Regions from separate parts of the Homo sapiens genome. Here region 1 is linked to region 2. Evidence: promoter capture Hi-C in human tissues and cell types (Jung and others, 2019). All regions are on one chromosome and are shown on one strand. The core of a region is centred on a gene start or on the middle of the fragment in contact, and the rest is flanking DNA. Distances in the headings are between cores, read along the strand shown. Region 1 overlaps ZHX1-C8orf76 (ZHX1-C8orf76 readthrough). Region 2 holds the start of TMEM65 (transmembrane protein 65).

Region 1 (5,083 bases), core at 628-3,127, 1.1 Mb before region 2:
CCTGGTAGCTGGGACTACAGACACAGACCATCGCACTGGGCTTATAATCACTTTTTAAAACTGAAAATGAAAGGTGTTGGCAAAAATGTGGAGAAACTGGAATGCTTGTATATTGCTAGTGGAACGTAAAATGGTACAGATGCTTCAGAGAACATTTTAGCACTGTGGAAGAGTTTGGTGGTTCCTCAACAAATTAAACACAGAATACCACATGATTCAGGAATACTACTCCTTGATATACTCAAAAGAACTGAAAATGGGTACTCAGATCCTTGTATACCAATGTTCACCGCAGCATTATTCACAATTGCCAAAAGGCGGGAAAAAAACAAGTTTCCATCAACAGATACATGGATAAACAAAATGTGTGTGGGAGGAAGTGCACGTGTACAGACAAACACACACACACACACACAATAAAACATAAATCAGCCATGAAAAGAAACAAAGTCTTGATATACGCTAAAACATGGATGAACTTGAAAACATTATAAGTTAAAATAAGCCAGACACAAAAGGGCAAATATTTTAGGATTCTACTTCTTTGAAATATCAAGAATACACAAATTCATAGAGACAAAAAGTAGATTAGAGGTTACCAGGGGCTGGGAGGAATGGGGAGTTATTGCTTAATGGTTCCGAGTTTCTGTCTGGGGTGATGAAAAACTTTTGGAAAAGTGGTGAAGGTGGTGCAGCACTGTGAATATAATTAATGCCATTGAATTTACACTTAAAAACTGGTATAATGGCAAATAGTATGTGATATATATTTTACCACAATGTTTTAAAAATTGACTTTGTTAATAAAATGAAAAAAAAAAGGTCACTGTAAACTACTAATCACTACTTTTATTTTGTATTCAAGGTCACAATCAACCAGAAGAGGGTTCTTTTGCTCTGTCAAATAAATATATTTAAAAGCTAGCAAACGTCAGAGAAGAGTTTTATCAGGCCTATAAAAGAGATGAGGGAAATTAATAGTTATATACAGCTACACAGAGTTAACATATTGCAAGGGAAACAACTATATTCAAAGGCTTCATTTCTAATACTTGACATTTCAAATTTTGAGAACATTAAAATTATTGTCAAACAAAACTCAGACCACATTAGCAATGTTTATAAAAGGGAGCAATTTAATCATTATATTACAGAGTGCTTTAAGAAGTTTTTAAACGTGTAAAAGAAAAAAAAAAAGCTTAGTGCATTACGGTCTTTACATTGCTTCTTTTTTAAAAAAGTTAACAGTAGTATGAAAAAAGCCACCCACAAAGCCAGCTGTCTGAGTGAGGAAATCAGCTACATTGCAGCATTTTGGAATTACTAATAAAGCTATAGTTAAAAAATAAAAAGTTTATAAAAATGAAAGCAGCATGCATATTCAAGGCTTTTTCATAACATTTTCAATGGCTGAAAAACATTTAACCAAGAGCTTAATATTTATTATCCATTAAATTAGAGAAAATAAACTGGCTAAGCCTACATCTGGTCATTCAGAAAAACATGTTAAAATCCAAAGCTAATTAAACTGAACATTTCTTCTACGAAGAAAGCGCATTTTGAAAAATGGTCCTATGGTCACAAAAGAAAGGGTTCTTCCCAATATGAATGAACAGCACCAGTCTTTACAAAGTTTGTAAATTAGTATGAACTTTCAGTCTCCTGATACGGCAAGAGTTAACAGTTAACACTCCCATGATTCATAAGTGAAAAGCTAACTTTTAACTCATTATGATCAGTTCAGAATTTTTTCTCTATTCACTGAAACTGTTATAAAATTTCACTGAAAGATAACTCTTAAAAATTCTGATCTGACACCTGTATAAACATTTCTGATTTCCACGATTGTAAGAAAACACTAAGTATACATTTACTACGTGATTCTTTTTCACATTTTTGGTGCAGTATTTATTTCAAAGCTTCACCCTATCCAAATTACCATGTCAGTTTCTTTTCCTTCTTCAGAATTAATTTCCTGCAGTTTAATAAAAAGCAAATCAGCTTCTAATGGAACAAGTAACAGTAGAAACAGTGGTATTCATGGATGTGTTTAATGAAGGATCCAATTATTAAGGGCCAGTGAAACCATAAAATCTTATTGTTTCAACATATATAAATAGGCTGTTTTTACATTTGAAATTGTATAAGCCCATGCACAACTTTTAATCTTAGTGCAGGGTCTGATAAATAAGACATAGTAATAAATCAGGGTTTTTTTTTTTTTTTTTTTTTTACCCATTTCTAACAATTTTTACTGTAAAATTTTTGGTCAAAGTTCTAAGCTTAATCACATCTCAAAGAATAGAGGCAATATATAGCCCATCTTACTAGACATACAGTATTAAACTGGACTGAATATGAGGACAAGCTCTAGTGGTCATTAAACCCCCTCAGAAAGTCTAAGATTCAGAATGTCTCCATCATATTAGAAGAAAAATGTACTGTATTAAAATTTAAATTGCATTTTTACAAGTTGTTTTTTAATTAGTGTTCTATTTACATTGCAGAACTTCCACCAACTGCAGTAGTTTAACTTTGGCACAACATTAAGTTCCATTTCTTTTGGGTATTGGATCCTGCTTTTTGAGTGTGTATGCCCCAAAACGTTTTCAATGTCATCAAAGATTGGGCAAATTCACAGTAAATCAGACATCTTGAGTTGAAGAATTGATTCTCCTTCAACGTTTTAGGCAGCTAAAAAAGAAAAACATCATAAAAAACTGAAAATTTAAAGAAAACCATATTTTAATTTTTACTACTTTTAGAAATAAAAGTGAAAATACATCTTTTGTATTCTCTTGAGATTACCTGCCACATATGTCTTCCATAATACACTAGGCTTTGTGTGCAACTCATCTATGTATATGTTCTTCATATGCTAGATTTGCTTATAAACATTTATCATCTTTATGTAATAATTTATTTCAAACTGTATGAGCAGGGAGTATATATTTCATTGTCAGTATCTGTAATAAGCAGACTATGAAATCTAAAGACTTGTACTTTTTTCTATTTCTATACAAGGTGCAAAAGATATATATGTACCTCACTTCCTGTAATAACTATTTTGGGAAGGTTTTGGTAACTTTTTTGGTAAATTGAACAATATTTAAATGAAGAAATAACTATTTAGAGAAGGCTATGGTGAATCCTCTTATAAGTGAAAAATTATTTTACTCAGCCAAGGATAACTTGATGTTTCAGAAATTTAGACTTTTGTGTATTTAAAAAGGCATGCTTCTATGCTATCACAAAAGTATATAATATGGTTTGGCTCTGTGTCCCCATCCAAATCTTACCTTGAATTGTAATTATTAAGGGACAGTGATACCACAAAATCTTATTGTTTCAACATATGTAAATAGGCTGTTTTTACATTTGAAATTGTATAAGCCCATACATAACTTTTAATCAGGGAGTGTCGGGGGAGGGAGCCTGGTGGGAGGTGACTGAATCATGGGGGTGGACTTCCCCTCTGGCTGTTCTCATGATAGTGAGTGAGTTCTCAGGAGATCTGGTTGTTTGAAAGTTGTGTGGAACATCCCCTTTCGCTCTCTCTCCTGTTCGGTCATGGTGAGATGTGCTTGCTTCCCCTTCTTCCCCTTCGCCTTCTGCCATGACTGTAAGTTTCTTGGGGCCTCCCAGTCATGCTTCTTGTTAAGCCGGCAAAACTGTGAGTCAACTAAACCTCTTTTCTTCATAAATTACCCAGTCTCAGGTCGTTCTTTATAGCAGTGTGAAAATGGACTAATACAGTGCATGTATAGCATACATCATACAGTCTTTTGAAAACTGTAGTTTTAGGATGAATTTTCTGACCAGAATTAGTATCCATTACAGTGTTAATATATAACATAAGAATTATCTATACAAAATTAAAGGTCAAACTAAACTGTACAGAAAAATTCACATTATTTTTGGAAGACTGCAACTCCCCAAAAAAATCATTGCAGAGGTTACAACAACAACATTCACTGCAGCAACAAATTTGTTGATTTAATCTTGGCTGAGTGCACATTCTTGTGTTTAGCAATAAAAAAAATGCCTGTTAAAAATATTTTATGTATCTGGGTCAGAAGAAAGCCTGCTCTGAAGATTTCTGACATTAGGAAATGGAGGGCTGCACTTCAGGATAAAGCTGTATGAAACTGTTTAACTTCTTATAACCTAAAATGATTACATTATACCCTATAACCTGGAATGATATTTATACTGCTTATTAAAACAGGTACATTTTTAGTTTCATCTGTTATCCCTTAAAAAATATTAACAAGGAGAAAACCTGAAAAAGGATTGCCAAGCAGTAAGAATAGTGCCTGGTACATATTAAGCTCTCTATAAATAATTGTTAAAATAAATAAAACCAGAGAGAAGATGTAAGGGAATTAAGGAAAAACTGCACAGAATAACAGAGCATAAAAGTAGGGGATGGGATACTCATGCAAAAAGCCAAGGAAATAAGTAAGCATGCTCACGTATAAAATAATAATGAGGGTCTACGTCTCATTTCCTTCCTTACTGTTTGAACACAGCAGTCATTTCTGATAGCAAGATGCTATTTGGACTACTGACAGACATACACAAACATTTCATGACAACTGCATTGTTTTCAAAACAGTGTACTTTTACCCCGGAACACTCCAAAACAAAGAATAGCAAAGAATAAAACTATGTTATTAAATTCCAGAAGTATTAAGAATTCAATTCCTAACTCCAAAGCAGGTATCTGATTTGCAACTACAGTTCAACTTTAATTAATCCAATTTATAAAAGAACTAAGATTTAAGGAACATGCCAAAACCTTTCAAATTTAAGCCATATTTATTTGCATTTTTAAGACTACAGAGATATACTTTAAATCAAATACAATGTTAGTGCTGGTAGCAGGTTTGTTTTATACCAAAGAATGAAAAGATATTTTAAGCAATTGGGTTTATATCAAATCTGTTATTTGCCTTTTGATCTCTAAAACAGAAATAATTTATATCACAGTTTTCAAAGACAGATGCCGCCTAAGCAAACATGAATTTATATATGGCCTAAAACAGACCTTTGACTTTTAACAGAAAAAGATATTGAGTAA
Region 2 (4,829 bases), core at 1,184-3,683:
GGGCCCTCCAATCTTGTAACTTGTTGACAATGCAGAATTTCCAAGAAATTACTTGGAAAAGGTAAAATGTGTGTTCAAATAGTCTTGTCAGTGCAGAAAGATTCAAAAGTTAATGTTCTAGTACATGACTGACTATATTATTTTTCCAAGGAGCATATTTTCAGAATTGACTATTTTTAAACTGCATACTGAGTGCACACATAGATTACAAATGTGCTAGTGTTTCATTATGATTGCATATAACATCATGATTACACATTGAATAACGGAATTGATCGGACGTTACATTTTCCTGTAAAAGCACTGTGGGTAAACAATGTCTGGAATCAATCATCCACTATAAATTGGTCCACAATTTCCTGAACTGAGGGGGAAAACATCTGATTAAAAGCCACAACTAAAACAAGTTTCTGAAGTAGTACAGATAACGTCCTGCTTACATGAGGTAGATAATTCTTTCCTCCATTCCTGCACATCAGCTAAAGATATACTTTCAAGTCTGGCAAATCAAATGGCATGATCCGAATCAATGTGCTCTACACTTTGGAATCTATGAGATGTTTATGTACCTACCAAGTTTAGAGAGGAGAGTAAACTTTTTTAAAACTTTCAAACACATCAGAATGTAATACAAACTGAAGCAATGTGTTTTGTTTACATAACTGTATTTAAGTGGCAGAAATATTTTAAGACATCCATTTTAGTCGTTTGCTCCTTTCATCCTTTTTATTTTCTGAACTTTTAGCTTTTTCACCTAGACTCAAATTCTGCCCTACCCCATTCTGGACTCCTTTTAGAAATATCCTATTTTAACATGCTAGTTTAAAAATCGTTTTGCTTTCATCATTCCCAATTACTTTTGAGCATCAGTCTGACTTTTACTACAGAGCCACAGATTTCCAAAAAATATACCTCCTTATTTATTTCATTCTTTCAACCTCTGGGAAAAACCAAAACTGGAGTTTAACTTGAATCTGTCTTTCCATTTCTGGAGAAAATGTTTCCTTTGGCTGCTGAAATTAACGCAATCAGACATGTGTGGAAACAAGCAGCTATGAGCATCCCTGACTTTCGAAGCTACACCCCTTCTTTTGGCTACCCACCCATACGTCTTCATTTGATAACCGTTCAAAAAGTTTCTTCCTGCCAGGCGGGTTTGCAGCACTTTCTCGGAGCAGGCACAGCATGCCACCTGCACGGGTGCACGCTCGCAAGAAAGCAGCAAGGGCTAAGGGACAGGAGGGCTGGGGAGGGGAGGCACGGGGCAAATCAAAACTCAATCCCAACAGCGTTAACTGGCATTTTAGGCCGAAGCTCCGGATTCGGAGGCTGGGGAGGAAGTAGCTAGCGCTGGCCTCGGCTGCCTGGCACGACCCGCGCCCGTCCTACCTGCCTGGGGGAAACTCGGGCGGCGGAAAGTCTCCCCGCCCCCAGCCGTCCCAGGCGTGGGGCCAGACAGGCGAGGGGGGCGGAAGGGGGGCGGCGGCGGGGGTCCAAGATCCAGGGCCGCAGCGGGCTCCCGGTGGGCTGGCGAGAAGAGGAGGGCGTCGGGGCCCCCGGGCTCGCCCCCCACCTGCCCCCCTTACCTTGGGCAATGGCAATAGACTCGAAGCGGTGCAGCTCTTTGAGCAGGCAGCTCCTCTCCGTGGAGTGCAGGCTGTAGATGAAGTCGCGCGCGCCCTGCGCCGTGTTCAGCGCCTCCATGGGCTCCTTCTTGGGGTGCGTGCCCAGCCGCCTGGGGCCGCCCGGCAAGCCGCCGGGGGGCGCGAGCGCCAGCAGCCCCCGCCCGCAGCAGCACCAGGACGGCGGGCGGGGCGCGGCGGCGGCGGCCGGGCCCGGCCTCAGGCTGCGCGCGGTCCGGCTCCTCAGCAGCGGCAGCAGCCGGGACATGGCGAGCTGAGGAGCTGGGACCCCCGCGGCCGTCCGGCAAGGCGGTTTCTGGCGCGGCTGAGGCGAGAAGGAGCTGGGCTCAGCTCGACCCCGCCCCGAGGTCCTCCTGCCAGGCAGCCGAGGCGCCGGGCACCATGCACTCCGCGGGCCCGCGCGGCTCTCGCCTCCTGTTCCGTCCCCACTTCCTTTCCAAAAGGCCCGCGGCGGCTCCCGCCCCTCCGATGGGAAAAACTTTCTCTGAGACGGCCGGGCCCGGACAGCGCCCGGAGAGGGCGGGCGGTCGGTGCGGGCGGGCGCCTCCCGGCTGAGGAGGAGCGGCGCGGGCGGGCGGGGCGGGCTAGTGTGTGTCTCTGTCAGTCTGATCTTCCAGAGGATGAGTCAGCCACGCACCGCCCTCCTCCAGCGCCGCCCTACTCTCCCGCCAGCTTTCTCACCCTCTAGCCTCCCCACGTCCCCACTCTGTAAGGTTCCCGAGCCCTCAAAGCAGCCGCGCTCCCGAGCCGCAGCCGCCGCCGCCGCCGCTACCCCTAGCGGCAGCAGAAGTGGGAACGGGGCGGGGCGAAAGGGGAAGGAGGTGCGGGGGGGCGGGGAGGTGTGTGAGCGAGGCTGCGCAGGCGCAGTCTGCAGGCTCTCGGGCCGCCCTCCCTCCTAGGGGAGGAGCGTGCACACGCGTCCCCTCCCGCGCTGGTGCGTGAAGGTGGAAGGAGGTAGGGTGCGCCACCCTGTGCTGGCGTTAAACCTACAGATCGGAATAGGGAAAACGAGCTCTGGACCCCTCGCCCGCCAGGGTAGTACAGCTGCCACCCGGCCCCCAACCTGGGGCCACATCTGGAGCTTGTTCTGAAAGGTGCCCCGGCGTGCGGCCCCGCTCTGGACAGGCGGAGAGCTGCGCTGCCACCCCAGCCCCGACGGGATCACGGCGCTCTGCTCCGGAACGAAGCGCCCCAGCTGCGCCCTTCGCCAAGTCAGCGCCCACCGCCGCTTCGGCCGAGCAGGCCGGCTCTAATGCAGTCGCTCTGGGCGCCCCAAAGAGAAAGCGAAGCCAGTTCCACCCCTGCCCAAGGAGGGTCTGAGACTGAGCCCTTGACACGAGAACAGTCCTCCCCGTTCAGATTCCAGCAGCTGGCATGCAAATTGTTAATGCTAGAGGCAGAGGCAAGAATGTCATAGACCTTTCCTAGTGGTTGCTTGTGATTTTTTTGTCTCTGTGCTAAAGCGGGAAGAATAATTTGATTGTCCACGATTTCCCCTGATCCAGGTCCTAGGCATCTTTCAAGGCCCAGGTGAAAGGTCTCCTACTTCATTAAGCTGTCCCTAATCTCTTCTAAGGGAGGAGATCTCTGCTTTATCTGAACCTGTCTAATGACGCTTAGGCACCCTTAGAGAATAAATCCACTTAATAAATCTGCTGGAGCGTAATCAAGATCTAAATCCCATCCTTATCATAAACAGTGCTGCACTCAGCCCGGAAACTTGTAGGTAGTAAATGTGCTACATGTAAGTAGAATATTAAACTGAATAATGGAGGATTGTTACCACTAAAGCCTCCTACTTCTCTAACTCTGGTTCTCAAAGTGTGTCCCAGAGCTTTTTAGACGTGAGAAATAGTGGACCCCACTTCACACCTCCTGAATCAGAACGTAGACATTGGACCCAGTCATGTGGGTTTTAACAAGCCCTCCAGTAATAACACACACGAAAGCTTGAGAAACACTGATGTCTCTTAAACATTGAAAGGAATCGCTTCTTTTTTAAATTCCAAGGTGATGCCTCTGTGATGTAATAACAACAATTAAGAATGCTCTCTGTGGAAATGAAAGCTTTTTGAGTGCATAAAGTATATCTTCCTTGTCTTTGAAACCCCCTTCATTCCCTAGTGTGCACTGGAATCCTCTGCAGAGCTATTTCAGTCTCAGGCTCATGGGAGTACCACCCCATCCCCCCCACAATTTCCTACCCCCAAGATATTCTGATTCACTGGGGTGGATCACAGGCCCCAGACCTGGGAAGTGAGGTTTGAAAAAAGTTCTTCAGTAAGAACCCATTCCCAACCACCTCCAGAATAGTAGTTTAGTGTGTAGCCTCCAGAGACAGACTGTGGAAAGTTCGATCCCTGGATCAACCGTCTCCTAACTATGTGTTAGTATTAGATTGTTATAGTAGTGATCCCCAATGAACTACACCTTCTATTATCCGCTCCGTTGTGTGGTCCACCTCTACATTGACTGTGGGCTTGGCTATTTGACTTGTTTTGGTCAATAAATAGGAGGACATCATAAACGTGATATGATACATGTTTGCTCATTGGGGTTTGCTGTAATGCTTTTGCTATATTACTATAGAATATTTAATTCTATTATAAAACAAGAGAAACTAAAATGTAGAAGCAAGTCACTTATGAGAAAGGTTACACATAGAATGAATGGATATGGGTTGAACATAGATAAAAAGGATGGAACAAATGAAAATGCTGCTTTAGATAGAGGCAGAAAGACAAAGTGGACTTTTAAGTATTAATAAGGTACAGATCATACTATCTTCAGATTTACAGCCATGTCATCCCTAAATTGCATACCTACTGGTAACACCCATTGTAACGCTATTATGGCCTCATGTAATCTCTTCCCAAGAAAAGCAGATAAACCCCCAGCTACAAAGCCAACTAATGCCAGCTACCATTATAACCAGACACACTTGCCCCTCAGCTCTGTAACAGAACAGACATATGTTGAGCCCAGGCCCCTTCAGTCTGTTGAGTCACCTTACTTACTCTCCAGTCTGGTCCTTGTAGCCACACTATGTGCTGAGAAGACTGGATGGTGGAGAGGGATAAGACATGAGAACATTGCATAAAACAGAATTTAGGTGCTATGGTCCTTCAGCCTATCCTAAGCTTATTAATCTACCCTATCTCTTTCCCCTTGCTTCTCACTCTGTTT

The links. The method cuts DNA at HindIII sites, captures the fragments that hold promoters and counts their contacts. A contact is called where the count stands out against the background at its distance.
Region 1: a contact is called between a fragment that was not itself captured here and the fragment with the promoter of TMEM65 in region 2, in 1 of the 25 tissues and cell types used here (hippocampus).

The regions. Positions count from the first base shown.
Region 1 is chr8:123,247,627-123,252,709 of GRCh38, forward strand. All of the region lies in intron 2 of ZHX1-C8orf76 (ZHX1-C8orf76 readthrough), which reads right to left. ZHX1 (zinc fingers and homeoboxes 1) reads right to left here. Exons shown (of 4, transcript NM_007222.5): 4 at 830-2,694. Among named protein-coding and RNA genes, the nearest start is that of C8orf76, 8.8 kb to the left of the region's middle. RefSeq lists an enhancer at 3,419-3,628. The HindIII fragment of the contact is 3,854 bases long and covers 1-3,804 here.
Region 2 is chr8:124,370,268-124,375,096 of GRCh38, forward strand. It overlaps TMEM65 (transmembrane protein 65), which reads right to left and starts at 2,434. Exons shown (of 7, transcript NM_194291.3): 1 at 1,587-2,434. The coding sequence starts at 1,890. RefSeq lists silencers at 1,457-1,506, 1,517-1,646, 1,697-1,826, 1,957-2,226, 2,347-2,576 and enhancers at 2,301-2,595, 2,807-2,996. The HindIII fragment of the contact is 5,376 bases long and covers 1-4,246 here.